Linked DNA regions of Homo sapiens: regions 1, 2 and 3 are each linked to region 4. Evidence: promoter capture Hi-C in 16 types of primary human blood cells and fetal thymus (Javierre and others, 2016). All regions are on one chromosome and are shown on one strand. The core of a region is centred on a gene start or on the middle of the fragment in contact, and the rest is flanking DNA. Distances in the headings are between cores, read along the strand shown. Region 1 overlaps SGO1 (shugoshin 1). Region 2 has its middle 4.5 kb from the start of KAT2B. Region 3 has its middle 70 kb from the start of MIR466. Region 4 holds the start of OXSM (3-oxoacyl-ACP synthase, mitochondrial).

Region 1 (2,887 bases), core at 127-2,626, 5.6 Mb before region 4:
GCTGTCATCACTATTGGGGTCCATTCCAGAGGAACATATTTCCTGGTTCTGTTAATGTATTAAAACAAAACACTGTTATAACTGAAGTATTCACAAGAAAGCATTAATTTATTCAACAATATGCACTTGTTGACAGTCTATCATGGTGCCATGCCATGGTTCTAGGAACTGAGACTATAACAGCTCAAAAGCAGAGTAAGTCTTATCCTTTTAAAGCTTACATTCTAGTGCAGGGAAGTAAAATTTTAAAAAGAGAAGATATATGTACAAAATTTCAGATTGCGATAAATGTCATGAAGGAAATACCCAGTGTGAGGTGATAGAGAGTAACTCAGGTTGGATTGCTCTTTTAAATACAGTGAATGTGATATAAATCAGAAGACTGCAAAGGAGCTAGCCACTGAAAGAACAGGAGGAAAAGAAGGCAGTGGAAACAGCAAATACACATAAGAAAAATCTTGCTGTGTTTAGGAAAGAAAGGTTGTTGTGGCTGGAACATAGTCACTGAGAACAGTAGGAGATGTACATGCAGGGGCCACATAATGTAGGGCCTTGAGAGCCATGAGTTTAGATTTTAGTCTAAGTATGATGGGAAGGTACTTAATATTAAGAAAGGAAGTAAACTGATTTAAGTTTTTGAAAGATCAGTCTGAATTGAAAGAGGCCGGGGGTAGAAAGAGCTGAGAGGTCATCATTGCATATCTGGCAAGATATGATATCAGCTAAGATTAGAGTCATGGCTATGGAGGTGAAGCCCAGTGGAAGGCCTTGAGATGACAGGTCAAGCTCAAGGACTGAAAAGGGATGGAGATGGGAACAATGAGGGAGAGGAAAGCCTCTTGTGGTTTTGGCCTAAGCAAACATGTAGGCTACTTTACTGAGTAAGACTTATAAAGGAAGGTAGGAAGTATACAGCATCTGTGGGGGAGACAAGGGGAAGTTGTGCTTTATATAAGGTATGTTTGAGATCCCTTATAAATCTTTAAGTGGAGATAGCAAATGGTGGCTGTGGGTATATGTGTGTATGTGTTTGTTTTTAGATTTTGTACTATTAACTGGGGAGGCATCAGCAGACAGACAGTACATAAAGCTATGAGAGGGTATAAGATGAGTCTACAACAACTGGCATTCATTCATTTTTTTGAAATAAAGTCTTGCTTTGTCACCCAAGCTGAAGTGTAGTGGTGCTATCATAGCTCACTGCAGCCTTGAACTCCTGGGCACAAGCAATCCTCCTACCTCAGCCTCCCAAGTAGCTGGGACTACAGGTGCATGCCACCACAACTGGCTAATTTTTATTTTTTATTTTGTAGAGATGGGAGTCTTGCTGTGTTGCCCAGGCTGGTCTTGAACTCCTGGGCTCAAGCGATCCTCTCACCTCAGCCTCCCAAAGTGCTCTGATTACAGCCACGAGTCAATGTGCCTGGCCAATAAAATGCCTGACATTTACAGGTAGAATGAGGAAGAAATCAGCAAAAGAGACCGACATGGAACAGTCAGAAAGGTAGAATGAAAAGCAGGGGAGCATGATATCATGAAAACTAAGAGATCAAAGTATGTCAAGTAAAGAGTGGTCCCTGTTTTGCATATTATTACTGCAAGGTCAAGAAGAAAGAGAAGTGACCACTGAATTTGGTAACATGGAGGTTTTGGTGACCTTGACATGCAGTGACAACAGAATGGTAAGGATAAAATCTAGATTCAGAGTGGCTGCAGGCCAGGCGTGGTACCTCATGCCTGTAATCCTAGCATTTAGGGAGGCCGAGGCAGGGGTATCACTTGAACCCAGGAGGTCAAGACCAACCTGGGCAACATAGTGAGATGGTCTCCACAAAAAAGTTTTAAAAAATTAGCTGGGCGTGGTGGTGTTCCAGCTATTCAGGAGACTGAGGTGGGAGGATCACTTGAGCCTGGGAGGTCAAGCCTGCAGTAAGCCATGATATGCCACTGCACTTCAGTCTAGGCAATGGAGCGAGACTCTGTCTCAAAGGAAAAAAAAGAGTCGTTTCAAATGTGAATGGAAGCTGAGGAAGTGAAGAATATACTGTTTTCTTTTAAAAAGTTCTGCTGTGAAGGGAAGCAAAGAAATGAGGAGATAAAGAAATATGAGACCAGGAGAGGTTTCATTACTTTTTCTCTAAGGTTGAGAGATACGAAAGCACATCTTTATGATGACTGAAATGATCCAGTGGAGAGGGGGATATATAGAAGAGAGAACAATATTCCAGGAATAAAGTTGTAGAGGAGGTGAGAAGAGAAAATTGGATGCATGGGCTGGGGAGTGGCTGGGGTTGGTGCTTGCCTTTAGTAGGAACAGGGGCCATTCTGCCACTGTAACAAGAGGGAAGATGAAGAACCTAAGTATAGAGGTGGATTTGCAGATCTCTGTTATGAAGATGACAATTCTCACTCAATTCCTAAGAAGCCAATTCTAATTTAATTATCTTTTGAAATTTGATGAACATATGCTGACATTATAATAAATAAGCTAAAAATGTTCATTAAAAACAAAACAACTAGAAATTTAATCCTGTTAAAAGCTTTAGGCCAGGTGTGGCGGCTTCTGCCTGTAATCCCAGCACATTGGGAGGCCAAGGCCAGAGGATTGCTTGATACCAGGAGCTCAAGACCAGCTTGGGAAACATGGCAAGATCCTGTCTCTACCCCCAACAAAAAAATTAGACAGGTGTGGCAGTGCATGCCTATAGTCCCACCTATTCAGGAGGCTGAGATGGGAAGATTGCCTGAGCCTGGGAGGTGAAGGCTGAGTGTGCTTGAGCCTGGGAGGTGAAGGCTGCAGAGAGCTGTGATCACACCACTGCACCCCAGGCTGGGTAAGAGCGAGACTCTGTCCACCCCCAACCTACCCTGGCCAAAGATGAAACTT
Region 2 (2,700 bases), core at 165-2,664, 5.8 Mb before region 4:
AATGTGACTGTATTTTGAGATTGTCTTTAAAGAGGTAGTTAAGGTTAAATGAGGTCATTAAGGTGGGCCCTAATCCCATATGACTAGCATCCCTAGAAGAAGAGATGAGAACACAGAAACACACAGAGAGAAGATCACATGAAAACACCGGAGAAAAACCACCATCCACAAGCCAAGGAGAGAGGCCTCAGAAGAAACCAATCTTGCTGTCACCTTGATCTTGGGTTTTTAGCCTCCAGAATTCTGAAGAAATAAATTTCTGTGTTTAAGCCACCCAATCTGTGGTACTTTCTTATGGAAGCCCTAGCAAACTTATATACTGTGGTAAAATCAGAAGTCAGTTTGTGTCATAAAAATGTAGATAAAAAATTATAGACAATAACAAAAAAGATGGGAGCATTTGGTGAGTACTTCTATACTAACATCTTGCTTGATTTTTAACTATGTAGGATAAACACATGTCCTTTCCTAGAAATGAGACCCTGGCAGAGTTGAGTAGTTGTGAGAGACCGCGTCCCACAAAGCCTCAAATATCTTCATCTAGCCTTTAACGGTGAAAGTTCACTTGATCCTTCTCCATGGGTTTATTTTGCAAACATCAAAAAACATGACCAAAGATACACTTCCGTACATATTTACTTCTGGGGTGGGCAGGCAATTGGGAAATGAGATAAAGAGAGATATAAAAGAGCAGTCTTTAATTACATATTTATTATATATGTTTATGGAAAATGAAAACATTAAAAATCTGGTTGGTGAATATACAAATATATTACTTTATTTTTCAATATGTTTGAAATATTTTATAACAATATAAAACTATTGTGGTTTTGAAGGGATATAATGTTACTATACTGAACAATCGTCATTTTTCTTTGTTTTTCTTAGCCAAAGCATTTGCTGATGTATAGCACCTATTTTATACATTGGAACACACTACTCTGTGCTTTGATTTTAGGCTTAAAAGGTCAGTGGCAGTGTGCTCAGCCAATCAGGAATTAGGATTAAGGAATTGAAGCCTTTTATACTAAAGGCTTCCCTTATAAGGGGACCCTAAATTAGAAAACCTGTTTTGAGAAAGATTTTTTCCCTAATTTGTGAAACTATATATATGAATGTTTTTATATATTTAGGGAATTAGAATCCCTCAGGTTTATTTTAAACAATTATCTGGCACTAACAGGAATACAATTTATGATGTTCATATCATTCCAGAAAATCTAGGTCACACCAAAGTCGGTTCTTTGGAAATTTGATTTCCTTATATAATTTTCAAGGTGCTTGAAACAATAAATTCTCATGTGCTGCTTTGGAAAAGTAGAAAGTCATTTAGCCTGAATTCAGAAGAAAGCCGACTTTATTTCTTTTACTTACATTGTACTTTCATTGTAAATGGTAAGTAAACTGGTGAAATAAGTATGCGTTAATATTTAAAACAGAAAGCAATATAAAAAAACCCCTCTGTCTTTACAAGGGCAAGGCTTAGCCAAATATACTTAGGTCTATTCATATTAATAATAGAAGATTGTTACTAAGGATAACTAAGAATTAAAATAAATAAGGTTGGGTAGTGCAGTGGCTCATGGCTGTAATCCCAACACTTTGGGAGGCCCAGGCAGGAAGACTGCTGAGGCCAGGAGTGAGAGACCAGTCTGGGCAACATATTGAGACCTTGTTTCTAATAAAAATTGGAAAAAAAAAAAAAAGTAGCCGAGTGTGGTGGCACATGTCTGTAGTCCCAGCTACTTGGGAGGCTCAGGTAGGAGGATTACTTGAGCCCAGGAGGTCGAGGCTGCAGTGTGCCTTGATCATAACACAGCACTCCAGCTTGGGTGACAGAGCTAGACCCTGCCTCAAAAAGAAAAAAAAAAAGGTTGAATAAAATAGCACTAATGGCGCTGGGCATGGTGGCTCACGCCTGTAATCTCAACACTTTAGGAGGCCAAGGCGGGTGAATCACGAGGTCAGGGGTTCGAGACCAGCCTGGCCAACATGGTGAAATCCTATCTCTACCAAAAATATAAAAAATCAGCTGGGCGTGATGGTGGGCGCCTGTAATTCCAGCTACTCGGGAGGCTGAGGCAGGAGAATCGCTTGAACCCAGGAGATGGAGGTTGCAGTGAGCCGAGATAGCGCCACTGCACTCCAGCCCAGGCGACAAAGCGAGGCTCTGTCTCAAAAAAAAAAGAAAGCACTAATGGTATTTGGGGCATGGTTAAGATTCACACTGGAAATGATTTAATTCATAAATGCTTGAAAACTAGGGAAGGGGATTTTATGTTTCCTCATCCTAGGATTCATTTATTATTTTCAAAACTTTTTTCCTAGGAGGATTTATTTTATTTAATTTAAAATAAATGTTCAGTAATTATAGCCACTTCCCTCAGAGGAAGGTTGGCCCAAGGAGCCCCACTTAGGCATTGACATGTCTCTTTATTTTACACTCATATCCAACTGCTGTTTCTAAAAGCAGGTGTCTGGGAAGAATGTCAGTCATGGTCCATGTACTGGGCCAAACCTGCACTTTGACCACTTGATCTGTACCCTTACAGTCTGTGCCTTTACTGGGGATAATTTCAATCCATCTGTGGGATTCAGGGTTACTGGTACATTACAGAAGCTGTATAGCCTTGGTAGGAAGGAATATGGCAAGAAACTCTGCTAGATGATATAACAATAGATGGCCACAAAACTTGCCTT
Region 3 (2,912 bases), core at 1-2,500, 5.4 Mb after region 4:
GTTAATGAGTACAAAAAAAACATAGAATGAATAAGACCTAGTATTTAATAGCACAACAGGCTGACTATATTTGACAATAATTTAATTGTACATTTTAAAATAACTAAAATAGTATAATTGGATTGTTATAACACAAAGGATAAATGCTGAGGAGATAGATACCCCAATATCCATGATGTGATTATTAAGCATTGCACGCCTATATCAAAAGAACTCATGTACTCCATAAATACATACACCTGCTATATACTCACAAAAAATTAAAAATAAATTTAAGAAAATTATTAATAGTTTCAAGACAGTAACAGAAGAGCAAGAACCCAAGCACTGAGCCCTTCTAAGTGTAGGACCTCACACCCATGAAGCCAGCTTTGATGGTGCATGCCCCATACTTTGTATATTACAGAGAAGGCAAGCATCCAAGGGAATGAGTACATGTGAACACCCTGTAGGAAACTTGAAGGGAAGTATGGAGGGCCATCAATGCTACCTGAGGCAGGAAACAAAGCCAAAGTATGGGACTAATAATTCTACGTCATACTGATGAGAAGAACCACAAGACAGTCAGGTCAGATACAATAATGAGGCATGTGGCTGGAACTATTGCCTGGAACTGTTTGTGATTTCGTTTTAGAAAACCAGTTTCCTGTTTTTTAAATAGTCAAAGTTAGAGTTGAAGAAGATGAAGGAGATAGTAATGTCATGACCTGATATATCTGGCAGCATCCTAGCAAGAAACATCCAGGGTGCTTAAAGATATAGCTGCAGAAAGTTTACTAAAGGGACAATACACAGAAAAGTGTAGGCAGGGTTACAAGCACCAAAAGGGACAATCACACAGAAGCACTAACAACAGCAGGAAGCTGTTACCAGCCCTAGACCTGAAGGGGCAAGGGGAGGCAGTGGTTATTGGAACTTAGAAAGGACTGAACTCCTGGGAGAGGGCAGGCTCACAGGAGCCAAGACCTTAGGGGAAGAAATGCAGTCACTGCCAAACCACAGCCCAGTAGGGAAGGGGCAGGAATAATAAATGCATCAACTTATTTATCTTCCCAGGACCTCCCATTGACAGAACCCAACCCAGAACAGGAGGGCAATAGATCCTGGATGACGCAGCCCAGAAGTCAGCCTCCTGGGGCACAGAGCAGGGAGGACAAGGAGGGAGATGGGCCTGGAGGGCACCTGGAAATTAATCAGCACATCTGGTGACATGTATCTGTGGAGGTGCTGGGGAGTGTGTGAGACTATTGGGGGTGAGGGTCAGGGGGCAGCGGTGGGGTCAGTGGGGGGTGGGGGGGAGGCGGGGCGGTATTTAAGAGAGTAGCTGATTGCACCCAGATTTTGGACTAGGCAAACTGGGTGAAAAATGACTCCATTCACTGAGCTGGGGAATTCAGAAGAGGAACATCTGGGGGAGGAGTTTTGGCTGTGCCATGTTTGGAGGCATAAAGGACATCCAGGGAACAGAGTAATCAGGACTGGCACTATAGAACTGGAGGTCATGGATCTGTAAGAGGCAGTTGAAGTCAGTGGGAAGACCAAGGACAAAGATCCAGCAACACCAACATGCAAAAGGAAATTGGGGGGAAACTAAGGAGTGGCCAGATGGGTAAGAAGAAACTGAAAAGAGTTGTTGGAGGGAGGGGGGGCAGGGTGGAAATATTCAGCCAAGATAATTTCCAGAGGGAGTGAGCCTTAAGTCATTGTACAAGAAGCCATTAAGTGGAATCCTGCATTGCATAGGTGTCTGGATAAGATGACCCCTTAGCCACGTCCCATCCCTGTGTTTCCACTATGATCAGAGATGAAGTAGAGCAGCAGTTCTCAGCTACCCCCTACCAAAGTTCCCAGTCTGCCCCAAAGACGGAAGGCAATGCCTCAAACACCACAATCCCCAACTTGGAGAAACCACCTCTGGCTTCCAACCCTCCTTGCCACCAATCTCTCAGTTTCTTCTGAAGCCAGCACAGAGGGATTAGCTGAGAAGGTTTGTGTTGAGGGGAATGGAGGCCCAAGAGAAAATAGGAGGAAATGAATCTCCCTTGGAATCCTTGAGGCAAATCAGGGCTAACACTCCAGCCACAAGCTGCAGTAAGTTTGGCCTGCTGGTCAGCTATGCAGGACAGATAGCAAAGAAGCCAACTCCTCTTGTCAGCCCCGAGCAGATGCCGAAGTTCTTCTGCAGACCCAGCTCTCTGCTACCTGCCAGTCCACGCTGCTGTCCCTCTCCACCCTTGTACTACCCTCTTCAGCCACACAACCAAATTCTGTGATTTCCTCTCTCCAGGGCATGTTTGCCCTCATCTGACTTGATGTTGAGGGTGTAGTCCCATGAGAAACTAAAGGGAAATAAGGTTAGAGAGAGCTTCCTCTGACCCTCCGCCCTCACCCCACCCCTCACGGCCAGGACAGCCCCATGCCCAGGTGTCACACAGAGGCCCCCCTCCAGCTCCCCTGCATGCCCTCGGTCTCTTTTTCAGGGAAAGCCATGGTTGAGCTGACAATCCTGCCTCTGAAAAGCCTTAAGTGCTTCCTAGAAGATGCATCTGACTTTCACCAACACTAGTGGCTAGCACTTCCGCTTCCACAACCCTGTTGCCTCTCCAGGAAAAGCCTCTTTAACCAAGACCGCCTTAAGCCACTAGCCGAATGAGGCCAGTTCCTCTCAGCTACTTCTCATTTGCCTTCTGCCTGCCCTGTCAATGGCATTTGCCAGTGCTCAGTTAATGTTTCTGGAACTCTGGAACTACAGTTTTCTTATTCACTGAGGTAGCCAAACTAGAGTGCTTCCCAAAAGCGCTTCTTCTGACTCTCTACTAAAACTGTCTTTAATCGTCTTGCCTGAAAGTCATGGTACAATACCAGATGCTTCAGGGAGAAATGACTCATAACCCCTTCCCTTAAGAAGCTCA
Region 4 (2,700 bases), core at 92-2,591:
TGTTTGTTTTAATTCTTCAAGAAACTCTACTTTGTCACTGAATGAGGATCAACTAGAGGTGACTGGTTAGGCCTGGGACGAAGGTCAAACTGAGCTTTGCTGAATTATTTTAAACAAAATAGATTTCCAAACTCATTTAAATCCAGGACCAACCTGGAAAGCTAAGCTTGACTCACATTCTTCTGTAGGGGTAGGAAAGAATGCAGAGCACTCTACTTGGAAACAATGGCTTCAAGAGGCATTGCCCAGAAAAAACCATAAATATGACTAGAAGGTCCAGATGAAGATTCTATGCTCAACCATTTTTCTAAAGAAGAGCAAGGACAAAACTCACGCCTGGGATAGCATGTGAAAAACAGATGTTCGATGAATACCATCTTGTCGACTTCTTGCTTTTTTACATTTTCATGTTATATTTTCCCTTTATCGGTTTGCAGTCAGCTCTAAGCAAACAGTTAATGAATTTTTCACACTTAGAAACAAATGTCTCCATTGTGACAATGGAGACAATTTTTGAGCACTGTCTCAAATCTGGTGATAATTTTTTTTTAAGTGAAAGGAAGTTTATTAGGAAAGTAAAGGAACAAAGAATGACTACTCCATAGGCAGAACAGCCTGGTGACAACTTTTAAAAAGTAAAAACTTTATTACAAAAACATTTGTTTATTGTAGAAAAGCTTTATTAAATAAAGCTAAGCAAAAATAAGGAGGGAAAGATCACAATCAGTATACATCTTGCAGACCTTTAAAGAATTATTTTTGAAAAAACGGATATATACTGTTTTGTAACTATGTCTCCTAACAAATAGTCGCAACATCTCATTAATAAATATTCACCTGCAGAATTATTTTAAACGGCTGCATGGCATTTGGATGTACCACAAGATACACAACAAATTTCCTGATGTTGGCCATTTTGGTTAATTCCACTTTACTCACAATTACTAATAACGTTGCGAGCTATAGCAATAACTTTGAAACTGCAGAGAATTTCCTTAATTCTTTCTTACAATTCCAGTAGAATACGATGGTGTCCCTTCTCCGACAAAAGGGAATATTTGGGCATTATCACTGCCAAAGAAAAATGCCTTTTTGATGGGTGAAAATGCTACCTCATCGCGTTATTGGCAGGTCCTCGATTATCGGCGAGTCACTGAGGTTCCGAGAGGGGCGTCTCTGCTCACGCAAACAGCTACCCAGCCGCCTCCCACGGTCTGACCTCAGCCAAGGTGACGCGGCTTAAAGTCAACCGGCGGAAAGAGAGTCGAACGGGACGCGTGCGTGGGAAAGCGCATGAGCGTACGTGCGAGCGCGCATGAGCGTACGTGCGTGTGCGCGTGCGCTCGAGAGCGTCATCGCCCCCGACTGTGGAGAAGTGTCCGGGGTAGCCCCGTTACAGGTATCGCTGGCTACCCTCCTCCTTCGCCCCTCCTTTCCTCCTTTACATTCAAATCAAGTCGGGGTTGAATTTCGAGAGGGGAGTCCGAGGACCTGGGGCCTGATTTCTTTTTCTCTCGCCATGCTTCTTCGGGCTGTGTACATGTGTGGTGGTGCCTGAGAGGCGATACAGGGAATGGCTACACTCTTTTACTCCCGCCCCTGGCCTTCGTAGTACCCTTGAAGTGATCCACTAGTCGTAACCCCTCCTTCCACCAATGATTCAATTGGAGAAGTTTAGAGGAGTGGAAAGACTTGTCCCCTTCCCCCATCGCAAGCTTGGTCACAGAGTGTATTGCCAACCCATGTATCCAGACGCTCAGTCTAGGGCTCTTGGCCCTGGGTAGCGTTTTGAAAAGGCTGGTTATCCTTAAGTACTGAAGATTGATAAAGCCCACTTACTTACTTAAAAGAATATGCCCTGAAATGTGTTTTCTGTGCCACTGACACCAGAAATGCTATTTAGAAGAAGTTATCAGTAATCCTGACAAAGGATGCTTCCTGCAGCTCAAATCAGGCTGGAGGTGCCTTTATATTTTTCATTGAATTACTGTTTTGGTGACTCGAATGAATCATCAATTCATTTATTTGTCTTCAAATGTCTGACGGCACTTAAGGTCTAAAAAAGAAGGTAAGTTTAAACAGATAGTTTGATGTTAAGGTATAAATTGAAAGTATGTAACATTTTCCCTGTGTTCATTAGCAGCTCATATCAAGCACCCAAAGGAACACCTTGGATGTTTTTCCTTAGGCCCTTAAGCTATTTAAAAGAATACCTCCTAGGTGTGTTGTGGTCTTTTACAGGAATGTGTTTCTGATCATCTGAATCTTAATCATGTCCAACTGCCTGCAAAATTTCCTGAAAATTACAAGCACTCGTCTTCTATGTTCAAGATTATGCCAACAGTTAAGAAGTAAAAGGAAGTTTTTCGGAACTGTGCCAATATCCAGATTGCATAGGCGAGTTGTCATTACAGGCATTGGCTTAGTGACTCCTCTTGGTGTTGGAACTCACCTGGTTTGGGATCGTCTTATCGGAGGAGAGAGTGGAATTGTTTCACTGGTTGGTGAAGAGTATAAGAGTATCCCTTGCAGTGTTGCTGCTTATGTGCCAAGAGGTAGTGATGAAGGTCAGTTCAATGAACAAAACTTTGTGTCCAAATCAGATATCAAGTCCATGTCTTCTCCCACCATCATGGCCATTGGGGCTGCAGAATTAGCCATGAAGGATTCTGGCTGGCATCCTCAGTCAGAAGCTGATCA

What was found. The method cuts DNA at HindIII sites, captures the fragments that hold promoters and counts their contacts. A CHiCAGO score of 5 or more calls a contact.
Region 1: a fragment that was not itself captured here is called in contact with the fragment with the promoter of OXSM in region 4 in 1 of 17 cell types (M0 macrophages); the score reaches 6.7 in M0 macrophages.
Region 2: a fragment that was not itself captured here is called in contact with the fragment with the promoter of OXSM in region 4 in 1 of 17 cell types (activated CD4 T cells); the score reaches 9.9 in activated CD4 T cells.
Region 3: a contact is called between a fragment that was not itself captured here and the fragment with the promoter of OXSM in region 4, in 1 of 17 cell types (total B cells). The highest score is 8.3, in total B cells.

The regions. Positions count from the first base shown.
Region 1 is chr3:20,178,300-20,181,186 of GRCh38, forward strand. It overlaps SGO1 (shugoshin 1), which reads right to left. Exons shown (of 8, transcript NM_001199251.3): 4 at 1-48. The region is part of intron 3 of SGO1-AS1 (SGO1 antisense RNA 1); the gene reads left to right. Among named protein-coding and RNA genes, the nearest start is that of SGO1-AS1, 5.5 kb to the left of the region's middle. The HindIII fragment of the contact is 2,324 bases long and covers 215-2,538 here.
Region 2 is chr3:20,034,624-20,037,323 of GRCh38, forward strand. No RefSeq gene overlaps it. Among named protein-coding and RNA genes, the nearest start is that of KAT2B, 4.5 kb to the right of the region's middle. The HindIII fragment of the contact is 3,574 bases long and covers 1-2,700 here.
Region 3 is chr3:31,229,998-31,232,909 of GRCh38, forward strand. No RefSeq gene overlaps it. Among named protein-coding and RNA genes, the nearest start is that of MIR466, 70 kb to the left of the region's middle. The HindIII fragment of the contact is 7,716 bases long and covers 1-2,912 here.
Region 4 is chr3:25,788,749-25,791,448 of GRCh38, forward strand. OXSM (3-oxoacyl-ACP synthase, mitochondrial) reads left to right here and starts at 1,342. Exons shown (of 3, transcript NM_017897.3): 1 at 1,342-1,399; 2 at 2,242-2,700. The coding sequence starts at 2,273. It also overlaps a transcript of NGLY1 not described here. RefSeq lists enhancers at 821-1,350, 1,490-1,559, 1,570-1,639 and a silencer at 1,168-1,387. The HindIII fragment of the contact is 1,038 bases long and covers 676-1,713 here.